Regions from separate parts of the Homo sapiens genome. Here regions 2 and 3 are each linked to region 1. Evidence: promoter capture Hi-C in 16 types of primary human blood cells and fetal thymus (Javierre and others, 2016). All regions are on one chromosome and are shown on one strand. The core of a region is centred on a gene start or on the middle of the fragment in contact, and the rest is flanking DNA. Distances in the headings are between cores, read along the strand shown.

The links. The method cuts DNA at HindIII sites, captures the fragments that hold promoters and counts their contacts. A CHiCAGO score of 5 or more calls a contact.
Region 2: a fragment that was not itself captured here is called in contact with the fragment with the promoter of OR2T8 in region 1 in 1 of 17 cell types (megakaryocytes); the score reaches 7.1 in megakaryocytes.
Region 3: the fragment with the promoter of OR14K1 here is called in contact with the fragment with the promoter of OR2T8 in region 1 in 2 of 17 cell types (endothelial precursors and M2 macrophages); the score reaches 5.9 in endothelial precursors.

What each region holds. Positions count from the first base shown.
Region 1 is chr1:247,917,932-247,922,648 of GRCh38, forward strand. OR2T8 (olfactory receptor family 2 subfamily T member 8) reads left to right here and starts at 2,321. Exons shown (of 2, transcript NM_001005522.2): 1 at 2,321-2,587; 2 at 3,067-4,717. The coding sequence starts at 3,087. The coding sequence ends at 4,025. The HindIII fragment of the contact is 5,046 bases long and covers 1,585-4,717 here.
Region 2 is chr1:247,698,316-247,703,032 of GRCh38, forward strand. No RefSeq gene overlaps it. Among named protein-coding and RNA genes, the nearest start is that of OR6F1, 16 kb to the right of the region's middle. The HindIII fragment of the contact is 1,321 bases long and covers 1,602-2,922 here.
Region 3 is chr1:247,736,416-247,741,132 of GRCh38, forward strand. It overlaps OR14K1 (olfactory receptor family 14 subfamily K member 1), which reads left to right and starts at 2,200. Exons shown (of 1, transcript NM_001004732.2): 1 at 2,200-3,144. The coding sequence starts at 2,200. The coding sequence ends at 3,144. All of the region lies in intron 1 of OR14A2 (olfactory receptor family 14 subfamily A member 2), which reads right to left. The HindIII fragment of the contact is 3,693 bases long and covers 47-3,739 here.

The DNA of each region.
Region 1 (4,717 bases), core at 1,071-3,570:
TCATTTTAGTATCATGGGGAGGAGAGTTACAGTTTTACTATTAAGTTTTGGCAACAGGGATCAGAAAAGCACAGAATGGAATGTTAGAGGCATTGTTCTCAGTGTTCTGTGATTACTTGACGAATTATTGATGAGAAAAAAGGAAGGGATATATACGTGCCTTCTACTAGCATTGCAAAAGAGATCAGTGTGATTTAAAGTAAAAATGTCCACATTTTATCACCATTCTAAGTAAGAAACTATGGGGACAGAAGAAAATATAGTTCAAAATTCTCTAGCTTTCTAAGCTATAGTGAAGAAAGAAAAGGAAAATATTTATTTTTCAGGGTAATACTTTATCATACTTCTTTCTACACTAGTCAATCTTGAATTTTCAACCCTCTGTTAAATGAAATTATAGACATTTTATTAGCAAGATTATTTAATTCTTCATTTTTCATTTAACTGTTCTTTGTATCCATGGCCAATTTTTAAAAAAAATTATCCCAAATAATCATTTTTGTAGGTTTATAAACATTTTAATTAGTGGCAAATTATCTTAGCTTTGTAACATAAAAATATAGACAGTAATTTCAATAAAGCAAATAATTTAATATTATCACATCGTAGAAAAATACAGTTATCTACTAATTTTATTTAACACATTTAATTAATCATTTCGTGAAATAATCTGAATGCTATGGCATGATGACCAGTTAGACTGATACAAACTGATAATTTTTATACACCTGGAAATAAAGAATTTTTATTCCACATAAACATAAAGAATAGAAATATTATCTATTTTCACTGAAAAGGTACAAGCTAATGACATCAAATTTTACAAACTATTTAACCATAGTAGGAACTTCATAATAAGAAAATGTATTTCCTGAACTGAAAAGTCATGCAAGTTGTTGAGATTATTCTCTGAAAACATATGAACCAGTCTGGCACAATTTAAGCGGCTAATTAATTGCAATTGCTATATTTTTATGCTATATATGTTTACCTTACCAAAATAAAAAAAACTAACATCTGTCGTGAAACATTCCATTAAAATGATACTTAAACATACAGCTGAAGTGAGTGGGAGCAACGTTAATGGCTATGACTGGATAATTGAACAAACTGTTATATATGCAGATAATGAAATAGTATTCACCCTTTGGAAGGAAATTCTGACACATGGGATGAACCTTGAGGACATTATGATAAGTGAAATAAGCCAGTCACAGACACACACACACACACACACACACACACACACACACAATACCACATGATTCCATTTATATGAGGTTTCTAAAACACTCAAATTTATAGAGACACAAAATAGAATGGTGGTTGCTGGGGGCTGTGTGTGAGAAGAATGGGGAGTTATTTCACAGTGGGTACAGAATTTCAATTTAGGGAGGTGAAATGAGATTCATAGATGGATATTGTGGATGGTCATACAACAATATGATTATACTTGAAGCCACTGTACTGATTGTGCCTTAAAAATATTTAATATGATAGAAAAAATAATTTAAGAAACTTGTCCAACACCCTACAGTTATGACATTACAGACTGATTTTTTAAAAGATATTTAAAGTTGATCAAGCTTCAACACTAAGGAAGGTTGGGAAAACGGAGAAATGGAAGATATCGAGTGAAAGAAATGAGTCAGGAGGGTTTTGAGGTCTTTCAGCAAAGTGACACTAAGGGCTGTAATTAGAGATTTTGTATAGTTCCTACGTGTAGAAAGTACATGTTATTGCATTTTCTAAGAAGTAAAAAGAAAAAAATAGAGCATGTTAGAGATACGAAGGTGTGAAGATCACAAAGTTTTGTCAAATGCAGAATTTATTTGTCAAGAAGGACATATGTATATTTCCATGATGTTTAAATTTTAAACAACCAAATAAAACCCTCAGGTATTGTGCTGCCCGTACAATTATGATGCTCAAGTAATGCACTCTGGTATTGACTGACGCAACTGCACTGCCTTTCCCAGTCGTGACTGGCATTTTAGTTTAGGGTGGATACAAAAAGTGGAGGCAAAGGGAATGCGCATGGAAGAGATGGGCTCCTTCTGCCATATAACTTTATTGAATTAGACCATATCCTTGAGATTGAATCAGCATCAATACCTCTGCAGGTGTGGCGACATTTATTCAACAAGGTAGAAAACTTCCTGCACCAGCAGATCTAAGATGAAAATGTCTATAAAGATTTCATTTCTCTTGAGACTGAAGAAGACATTAATTTATCTCTGTGATTGGATAAAGATCTTAGTTTTCTTTTTTCTCCTTTACCTGGTAAAGGTTATACTTGTGGACTGATGAGAAAAAGTCTCATTGCAACAAAGTACCTTGTACAGTTAATGAAAATGTGTGTTTACCATTATACTCTTACACTGCAAAGAAATAAAAAATATCCAAGAAGGTCAGTACTGTTTTCAGTCTATCACCTATAAAGGAGGACTAAATGTGTTCACAACTCCAAATTAACTATGTTTTCATCTGCAGACTCAGCCTTTCCAGACCTGAGAATATAAGTCACCCTCTTTAGAAAGGAAAAAAAGTCTTCTTGGATTAAGTCAGGGAAAACTGCCTGATTTTGGTAGGTTTCAATGAGTTTTGATATGTTATAGACCCACAACCTTCACAGTCAAGGATGTAGTTTTATATAATGAAATATACTGACTTAATTCAGCTTCTAAAATATTGACTATGCATGATGTAACTCAAGCACAAATAAAGTGACAAATTATGTGAATCATTTCATTCTCACTCACTTATGATGGTACCAGATAAAGCAAAACCATTCTGACAGGTTACTTGCAACTTATCCAGAACGTGGATTTGTGATATAAAATTAATCAATACTTAGCCTGAGAAGCATTTATTATGAAATCCTTGGAAATGAGAAAAAGTTTAATTAATTTTATGCACAAATTAGAACATTTTGCAAGTGGCAAATGAAAGATTTGACATAGGTTTCATCGCTTTCACACAAGTACTTTTCTATTTTTTTACTACGTAACTCAAATGGAGTACCATAAAGGATAAACACTCTGTCTTCTTTTTCTCCATTTGCAGTGTCACTCTTATTTGAAATCATGGAAAATGGGAGCTATACCTCTTATTTCATTCTCCTAGGACTCTTTAACCACACCAGAGCCCACCAAGTCCTCTTCATGATGGTTCTGAGTATCGTTTTGACCTCCCTGTTTGGCAATTCCCTCATGATTCTCCTGATTCACTGGGACCACCGGCTCCACACGCCCATGTACTTCCTCCTGAGCCAACTTTCCCTCATGGACGTGATGCTGGTTTCCACCACTGTGCCCAAAATGGCGGCTGACTACTTGACCGGAAGTAAGGCCATCTCCCGCGCTGGCTGTGGTGCGCAGATCTTCTTCCTCCCCACACTGGGTGGTGGAGAGTGCTTCCTCTTAGCAGCCATGGCCTATGACCGCTATGCGGCTGTCTGCCACCCACTCCGATATCCCACTCTCATGAGCTGGCAGCTGTGCCTGAGGATGAACCTGTCGTGTTGGCTCCTGGGTGCAGCTGACGGGCTCCTGCAGGCTGTTGCTACCCTGAGCTTCCCATATTGCGGTGCACACGAGATCGATCACTTCTTCTGCGAGACCCCCGTGCTGGTGCGTTTGGCTTGTGCTGACACTTCAGTCTTCGAAAACGCCATGTACATCTGCTGTGTGTTAATGCTCCTGGTCCCCTTTTCCCTCATCCTGTCCTCCTATGGTCTCATCCTCGCTGCTGTTCTGCACATGCGCTCTACAGAAGCCCGCAAGAAGGCCTTTGCCACCTGCTCTTCACATGTGGCTGTGGTGGGACTCTTTTATGGAGCTGCCATTTTTACCTATATGAGACCCAAATCCCACAGGTCCACTAACCACGACAAGGTTGTGTCAGCCTTCTATACTATGTTCACCCCTTTACTAAACCCCCTCATCTACAGTGTGAAGAACAGTGAGGTGAAGGGAGCCCTGACAAGGTGTATGGGTCGGTGTGTGGCCTTAAGTCGTGAATAAGACTATATATTTGCCCCAACATTCAAAACTGTGCAAAGTGTTTGTGTGGAATTTCCTAGAAATAAGGAATATACACTTTTATTTCTACATCTGTTGTCTCTGTGTGTGTGTGTGTTTGTGTGTTGCTTTGAATTGCAGATGAATCTTCATTCCTCGGGTTCATTTACTCAGCTATCATTACCCAATCAAATCATGGATTGTTAAAAATCGGTGAACTCACTAATCCTTAGTAAGATGGTTTTACATCATACCTCACAATAATTTTTTGTTCAAAGAATGAATTAACCATTCAAGCAGTTTTGAAAGTTGTTGCCATTTGTTTCAAATTGAGGTGTAGCTTACACACAGTAGAATGCTCGCATTTAAGATGTTCCTTTTCAACTAATTTCCACAAATATCTACCCTGGTAATTCACCCATTAGGAAGAGACACCATTTTCACCACCTCAGAAAGGTCCTGCAGGCCCTTTTCCAGTGATACCCCAGGCCTAAGATACATCCACTGCTCTAATTTTTATCTCTGTTCGTTAGTTTGGGCTATTCTAAAATTTCACATCAAAGGAAACAAATAGTATGGTCTTGAATCTTGTTTCCTTCTTTCAGCTTAATGTATTTCTAAAATCCCTCCACATTTTTACCTCATTGTTACATTGCTTTTTTTTACTGCTAAGTAGTATTTTGTTTTCTGAAAAT
Region 2 (4,717 bases), core at 1,012-3,511, 220 kb before region 1:
ACAGTGATGGGGTATCCTAGTCCCCCACTTGACTCAAGAAGGAGAAACAGACCCAATCTTTTTAAATTCCCAACATACCAACAAACACAGACCAGCTAGGCTTACCCTCCCACAGGTCAAACCATACTGCATTACTATAAGAGCAAGAGCAAAATGATCTCACTAACAATTAGAAGGCAAGGGAAGCACTCTACACTCTTGTCAGGCCTGAGACCCTCCAATCCATCTAAACCTGCTAACCCTACTGCTGAGCAGAGCCAGCAAGAGGGACTCTACCAAAAGGAGTAATATTTCTGGAAAGTCTCTATCCCCCAGCCCCTAGAACAGCAGTCCTTAACCTTTTTGGCACCAGGGACCAGTTTTGGGGAAGACAATTTTTCCACAGGTGGAGGAGGTTAAGGGAGGATTCAAGTGCATTACATTTATTGTGCACTTTATTTCTATTATATATATATATATATATATATATATATATATATATATATATATATTTATTTATTTATTTACAACTCACCATGATGTAGAATCAGTGGGAGCCCTGAGCTTGTTTTCCTGCAACCAGACAGTCCCATCTGGGCATGATGGGAGACAGTGACAGATTATCAGGCATTAGATTCTCACTGGAGTGCACAATCTAGATCCCTCGCATGCACAGTTCACAGTAGGGCTCACACTCCTATGAGAATCTCACGCCATCGCTGATCTGACAAGAGGCGAGATCAGGAACCATAATCGTCTGTGGCCAGGGGATTGGGGACCCCTGCCATGGGAGACCCCAAAGTAGCCAAAGACCACCAGCAAATATGATTATCCCAAAATAGGCACAGTGAGAGGTCAAGGAAACCTCTTTTCTCCAGAAACCTGATACTCCTCTCCCATGCCAATTGGGCCTATCACTACTGATCCTTCAGCTATTGAAAAGACAATACAACCAACTTTATGCTCATAAATTCAACAACTTAGAAAAAAGAATAGACCAATTTCTTAAAAATTGTAAACTACCTAAACTCAACGAAGATGAAAGAGGTAATATGAATATTCCCATAACCACTAAGGAAATTTAATTTATAAATTAAAGCCTCTGACAGAGACATTTTCAGTCCAAAATGGTTCACTAAAGAATTGACCAAACTTTTAAAGAAAATATTAATGTGGATTTTATACAATATCTTATGAGGTTAATTTTTGTTTTGTTTTGTTTTGTTTTTGAGACAGAGTTCGCTCAGTAGCCCAGGCTGGAGGGCAATGGCACGATCTCAGCTCACTGCAACCTCCACCTCCCGGGTTCAAGCGATTCTCCCATCTCAACCTCCTGAGTAGCTGGAATTACAGGAACCTGCAATCCTGCCTGGCTAATTTTTGTATTTTTAGTAGATACGGGGTTTCACCATATTGGCCAGGCTGGTGTTGAACCCCTGACGTCAATTAATACAACAAAGAAAATATAAAAACAGTACACACAAAAAAAATTACACTATTTCTTATGACCAGTGACTCTTATGAGCCTAGATATAAAATCTTTAACAAAATATGAAAACAAATCTAACAATGTATAAAAAGTATGGGATAACACAACAAAGGACATTTACTCCAGGTATGCAAGCTTAGTTCAATATTTGAAAATTAATAGAATCAACTATGTTAACAGGGAAAAGATGCAGCAAAAGCATTTGTCGAAATTCAGCTCTTATTTATAATCATTTTATTTAAAATTTTCAGTAAGTCAAAAATAGACAAATTATCTTAACCTGCTGAAGACCATCTACAAAAAATCTACAGGTAACATCAGACTTAATAAAGACTAAATGCTTTTCCAAATAGTAGGGAACAAGGTAAGAATGTCCATTTTCATCTTTCTTACTCAATAAAAAGGTACTGGAAGTTCTAGCTTCTATAATAAGAGAAGGAAAAATAATAAAAGGTATAGAGATCGGAAAAGAAGAAAGAAAACAATCTCTAGTTGCAGATGACATTTTGTCTATGTAGAAATTCCCAAAGAATCTGCAAAAAAAAGATAAACATCCAATTTTAAAAGGATCATAAGACATGGATAGATATTTCACTAGAGAGGATATACACATGGCAAATAAACACATGAAAATATGTTCAAAATGACTAGCCATTAAATAAATGTAAATTTAAACTGTCACGGGCTATCAGAATGACTATTTTTTTTTTTAAATCAGGATAAAGAAAAACTGGATTGCTTATGCATTGCTAGTGGGAATGTAAAATGGTACGGTGCCTCTGGAAAACAGGTTCATCAGGTTCTTATAAAACTCAACATGCAATTATTATACAATCCGACACTTCTACTCTTGGGTGTTAATCCCACAGGAATGAAGATACATATATATACATATATATTTCATATATGCATATATGTATATACATATATATGCAATATGTCCCATATATCTATATATACAATATGTCCCATATATCTATATATACATATATGTCCCATATAGCTATATATACATATATGCCATATATGTGCATACATATATGTATACACGTGCATACATAAATGTCCCATACATGTATACATGTATACACATACATGCCCCAGATAGGTATATGTGCATACATGTCCCATATATGTATATGTACATATATGTATGCACATATATGCCATATATGTATGCACATATATGCCATAGATGTATATATGTATATATACACATATGTATATATGGGTATATAAACATATATGTCATATGTATATATACACATATATGTCATGTATATATACACATATATGTCATATGTATATATACACATATATGTCATTTGTATATATACACATATATGTCATTTGTATATATACACATATATGTCATTTGTATATATACACATATATGTCATTTGTATATATACACATATATATTACAAACTTGTACATGAAAGCTCGTAGATAGAAGCTTTCTTCATAATTTTCAAAAAGTGAAAGCATCCCAGAAGTCCTTCAATAGGTGAATGGTTAAATGAACTGTGAAACATACATAGCATCGTATGCTACTTGAAATAAAAAGAAGTAAACTATTGATATACATAACAATTTTGATAATCTCAAAGAAACCATGCTGAGTAATAAAAGGTAATACTATAATATTACAAGTTGTATGATCCACTTATAAAACATTGTTGAGATAATAAAATGTTAGGAAAGGAAACAGATTGGTGGTTGCCAGCGATAAAGGATAAGCAGTGGAAAGGAAGTGGTTGCTATAAAAGGGCAACATAAGAGGTCCTTTTGGTGATGGAACTGTTTATTATCTTTGCTACAGTGGTGGATAAACCTTCACATGTGATAAAATTATACAGAAATAAATTCACACACACAAATAAGTGAAAGTAAAACTGGGGAAATTGGAATAAGATTGTGAATTTTATCAATGTCAATTGCTGTTTGTGATATTGTACTAAAGTTTTGCAAAATGTTACCATTGTGAGAAACTAGTAAACTGTACCAAGAACCTCTTAGTATTATTTCTTAAAACTACATGTGAAACTAAAATGACCTTATAATAACAAATTTTAATGGAAAAGTATACTTGCATAAATTGAAATGTAATCTATGTTCTAAGTTAGAAAGTCTCATGAAATGGTCAGTTCTAAAGTTATTTTTATACATTTAATACAAAAGCAATGAAAACTGCAAGCTTTTTGGTCAAGCTAGACACATGATCCTAAATCATGAAAAAGTAAATACGTAATATCAACTAGAAAAATACTGAGCAGAAATAGTTAGGAGGCAGGATTTGCTGTATTAAATTTTAAAATTACTGCTGAGAGTATAATAGAATAATGAGGCATTGGAGCCTGTTTGAAAGGAGAGAAGAAGGAAAGAGACCAGGAAGTGAGGGGAGGGAGATAGAAGACAAACCTAGAAATAGGTCCTACTACATATAGAAATTTAACATATGATAAAATCACTATTGCAAATTACTAGGGCAAAGATAGTTTTTTAAATATATGGAGTTAGAACAACTGTATAGTTATTTGCCAGAATCAAAATTAGATTCATTCCTCATGTTAACCACAGGAAAAAAAATGGTTCAGAGATCTAAATGTAAAACTGGAAATGTGGCAATTACAAATACTAGGAAAAAATGGATTTTTTTTCTGTAATCTCAGAGTAGGGAATGGCCTTCTAACCAAGACTTAAAATCTATGTGCAATAGAAATATAATCTGTTTGACTACATAAAATTAAAGTAAAATACAGGGGAAAACACCATGAGCAGTTAAAAATAATGGAGAAAAAATATGTGTGGCATACATTATAGGTGAAAGGCTAACATCCTTAATATATAAAAAGATTAAACATTGACTAAAGATTTTTAAAATCTATGGAAAATTGCAAAAGATATTAGAGCAATTCATATAGAGATATGAAAATCGTTATTAGATATATTTTTAATGGTGAATTTCACAATAATAAGATAAATGCAAATTAAAACAACCTTAAGATACCACTTCTCATGAAACTGGCAAAAATGCAAAACCTTGACAGGGCATTCTGTTGATGGGAATGTGGAGAAACAGGCATTCTCACATATTATTCATGATAATACAAATGATGCAACCCCATTTTGGAAATTTGGGTTATATCTAACAAAACTAACTAAACATCGACCCAATAATTTGCTGATAACCAGAAAATAGATCTCTGACAGTACAAAAAAGATGTAGAAAATTATTCATCATAGCAC
Region 3 (4,717 bases), core at 950-3,449, 180 kb before region 1:
GTGGAATTTCCCTGGACCAAATAAGTATATAAATATAATGAGGCAAAGCTTTATTGTTATTAATGTTATCTGTAAAGAAAAGCACACAGACTTTTAAACTAATGCTATCACTCATTTCATATGTAAGCATGTGAAATAAGGTGAAATATAAATCAAAAATGAGACTGAAGGGATAAAAATCTAGCATTGGAGTCAAACATCACTGGGGTGGAAGGAACTCAAAAGGACACTCACTCACTCACTGAGCTACCCTGGCTGTCTCTAAAACACACAGGCTAATGCAACAGAAACAAGGATGGATGGTTTGCTAGTTTGGAGGTAGCTCTTGGGGTATTTTGACACTGCTCCAGGTTTTATTCCCCAGCAGGTCAAACAAAGGAGGCTTTACTTTTGGGGCTTCCATGAATTAGCTCATGTTATGAGTCAGGCTCTCCATTATTGCTCTAAAGCTAGGGCCAGTGCTTTCTCCAACAAGAAAGCCCAAAGTTTGCAACATAGTAAGAAATTTCCATTTGCTCATGAGTCTTTTCAACTTAAAACATTATTTTATTTAATTTTTGTAGACATAGAGGGGTCTCATCTTGTTGTCCAGGCTTGTCTCGAATTCCTGGCCTTAAGAGATCCTCTGGCCTCAGCCTCCTAAAATGCTGTGATTACCGGCATGAGCCACCATGCCTGGTCCCTTTTCAACTTTAAATCACTTGTTAATTTAGTTCTCAGAAAATCACTTGTACTGAAATGGACATATTCTATGAAGGTTAGAGGTACGACTGCTCATCCTGGAAAAGCTCTGTTTATTCTTGCTCATCCTCTCGGCTGTGTGTGTGTGCATATGTGTGTATAGAGAAGGAGGAGAATGTATGTTGTAATGGTCTGCTACATTCTCTTTCAGTTGAAAAACTGCTGAACAACAAAGTGAGACTCTCTTGTGTCTACAAAAATAAAATATTTTTTAAGTTGAAAAGACTCAAGAGCAAATGGAAATCTCATGCTATGTTGCAAACTTTGGGTGTTCTTGTTGGAAAAAGCACTGGCAGTAGCTTTAGAGCAATAATGGAGAGCCTGACTTATAGCTCAACATGAGCAAGTTCATGGCTGCCCCAAACTTAAAGCCTCCTCTGTTTGACCTGCTGGGGAGAATAAAACCTAGAGCAGTGTCTACATACCCTAAGAGCTACTTCCAAACTAGCAAACCGTCCATCCTGTTTTCTGTTCTGTGTGTTTTAGAGATGGCCTGGAAACCAAAGGGGAAAGTGAAAAAATTGCCATTGAAGTGATACTAAAGTAAAATCAAGAGAGGTTCTAAAGACAAGATGATCTGAGGGAAAAACATGGCCAAAACTCTCCCTCACGTTGGGGTGTGCGAGGGATCTCAGATGACAATCTCTGAATGTCTATCACATAAGAGGACACACTGCATCTCTGGTTAGATGCAGTAGATATCCCTGTCTGTCGCTTCCTGTGTTTAATTAAATCCTTCCTAGAATATTATGTTAATCATCTGGCTAAGTCTCAGGTTTTTGTTCTTTTCATGAAAAATGACACTATATATTTGAAAACTGATTTGTGAAAATAACGAGTACTTTTTAATTTTTGTGCTATGCTATGTATATGGACTAAAGAAAGAAAAAAATGATACTATAATCACATTTTCACCAAAGGAGTAAACTTTAATGCAAAAATGGGAGAATAATCTTAACATCCTTCAGTGAGAAGGGGATAGTAAATTAGAGTATCACCTGAGGATAATGACTATTTTAAATATTGCAGTAAGTAGCAAGCAGAAATTTCATTCACAACATTTAATACACACAAAACTACATTAACCGGGATATTTATACATGAAAATGTATGCCCTATTGCAGTTTTATATATAATTGCATAGCCAACCCTGTAATTCCCAAAGGAAATAAAATCACTCAAAAGTCATTTCAAGTAATGAGGGAGAGAAGTGAAGTTCTTTGCTTCTTTCACAATAAATCTTAGTCCAGGACTACTAAGTGTTAGACTGATATACCCACAGTTGTTTTACACCTGAGTCCATGAGAAATATAAATTGCTTGATATTTTTAAACTTTTTGTCTAGGCCTTGATGCTACACATACCTTCATTCAACAAATGAAGAAACAAATGATACTTTTTAATATTAGTATGACACTTATTTTCCTTTACTCCATAGGGCGCTTATAATTTTGAACTATGACCAATCAGACACAGATGATGGAATTCTTGCTTGTGAGATTTACTGAGAATTGGGTGCTCCTGAGGCTGCATGCTTTGCTCTTCTCACTGATCTACCTCACGGCTGTGCTGATGAATTTAGTCATCATTCTCCTCATGATTCTGGACCATCGTCTCCACATGGCAATGTACTTTTTCCTCCGACATTTGTCCTTCTTAGACCTGTGTCTCATTTCTGCCACAGTCCCCAAATCCATCCTCAACTCTGTCGCCTCCACTGACTCCATCTCCTTCCTGGGGTGTGTGTTGCAGCTCTTCTTGGTGGTACTGCTGGCTGGATCAGAGATTGGCATCCTTACTGCCATGTCCTATGACCGCTATGCTGCCATCTGCTGCCCCCTACACTGTGAGGCTGTCATGAGCAGAGGGCTCTGTGTCCAGTTGATGGCTCTGTCCTGGCTCAACAGAGGGGCCTTGGGACTCTTGTACACAGCTGGAACATTCTCTCTGAATTTTTATGGCTCTGATGAGCTACATCAGTTCTTCTGCGATGTCCCTGCCCTACTAAAGCTCACTTGTTCTAAAGAACATGCCATCATTAGTGTCAGTGTGGCCATTGGGGTCTGTTATGCATTTTCATGTTTAGTTTGCATTGTAGTTTCCTATGTGTACATTTTCTCTGCTGTGTTAAGGATATCACAGAGACAGAGACAATCCAAAGCCTTTTCCAACTGTGTGCCTCACCTCATTGTTGTCACTGTGTTTCTTGTAACAGGTGCTGTTGCTTATTTAAAGCCAGGGTCTGATGCACCTTCTATTCTAGACTTGCTGGTGTCTGTGTTCTATTCTGTCGCACCTCCAACCTTGAACCCTGTTATCTACTGTCTGAAGAACAAGGACATTAAATCCGCTCTGAGTAAAGTCCTGTGGAATGTTAGAAGCAGTGGGGTAATGAAAAGATGACTAAAGTTGAAGATGGGAAGTAACTTTTTTTGTTGTTGTTGTTCTGCCATCCACTAGCTGTTTAAAATTATCTCTATTTTGGGATAAAAATGTCATGGAGTCTTGCTACTGATAATCTCAAGCAGTCAGTTTTAATAGAAATAGAAAGCAACTATTTTCCTACAATTTTTGCACTTTTTTTTTTTAAAATTTTGAGACGGAATCTCTCTCTGTCATCCAGGCTGGAGTGCAGGGGCGTGATCTTGGCTCAAGCAATTATCATGTCTCGGCTTCCCAAGTAGCTGGGATTACAGGTGTATGCAACCACGCCCAGCTATTTGTTTGTGTTTTTAGTAGAGACGGAGTTCCACCATGTTGGCCAGGCTGGTCTTGAATTCCTGACCTCAAGCAATCCGTTGGTCTCAGCCTCCAAAAGTGTTGGGATTACAGCGTAAGCCACCGTGCCCATCTCTTTTCCTATACTTCTTCACTTGACATCTGTTATTCATGTAGAAATAATTAAAGTTTTCCTATGACAACTTCAATGATTTTTACTCTTGTTCTGAAGATCCACATGCATTGCATGAGATTTGTATGAGGTTCTCATACCTCAAAAAGCTTTCATCTTTTCGGCATTCTCTTCAGTTAGTTTCTGCTTTATTGTCCTATCTTTTCCAGCATTCTCTTCAGTTAGTTTCTGCTTTATTGTCCTAGATTTTGCATTGCATCTCAGGTTTTATCGATTCAACGTTCTTTATAGCTTCTGATTTTCACTATTTGGTAAAAGTTGTAATTTTAACTTAAAGTTATGATTTCAACTTACTTTTACAGTTTAAAAAATGTACTCAATTTTATTGCATTTTACCTATTTGATTCATGTGTGCTTGGTAGATTTTATACAATTACCCAAACACTTAGGAAGGTGATTTTCTCATGTCTTTTTAAAAATAAATTATGTTTTTGGAGTAGAATATTTTTCTCTTCATTAAAACTTCTTTTTCTCTAATGTGTTGATTCCTGACTTGTGCAAATTGCTTTCATAATGTATTAGAATTAATGAAATAGCATTTAGCACTGTTTCTAACATTGTGATAAATTATACATTTTCTGGACCTTTAATATTATATAACATTTCAAGTACCCTAAATGTGTAGAATTGTTTTCTACTCCTTGCTGCAGGAGACAATCGTCGTATCACCCTATTTGTCCTCTTGCTGCTTCTTTCCTAGAGATGGAAATTAACATTTGTTGCCTAATTTCACTGTATCAGACACTTTTGTGTATACCACCTCTATTAATCCTCTGACTGATATGAGGCAGCATGTAATACTGTTAAGCAGATGGGACAGCTGAGACTGAGCATCTTTTTGTTTATGTTACTCATAACTTAAGAATGTAATAAAATATGTTTCTAGCCTTTGGCAATACCTTTCAAACTCTGTATGCTCACTACAGCATCTTTGAAACTTGGTCCATATTAGCTTCCTCATGAAATCTTCTATTTGCCCAAATTCTACCCAAATATTAAAATCTAGCTTAGATTTTTAGAGTCTAGCTATAAAATATTATGAAAGTGCTTAATTACATATTTCTC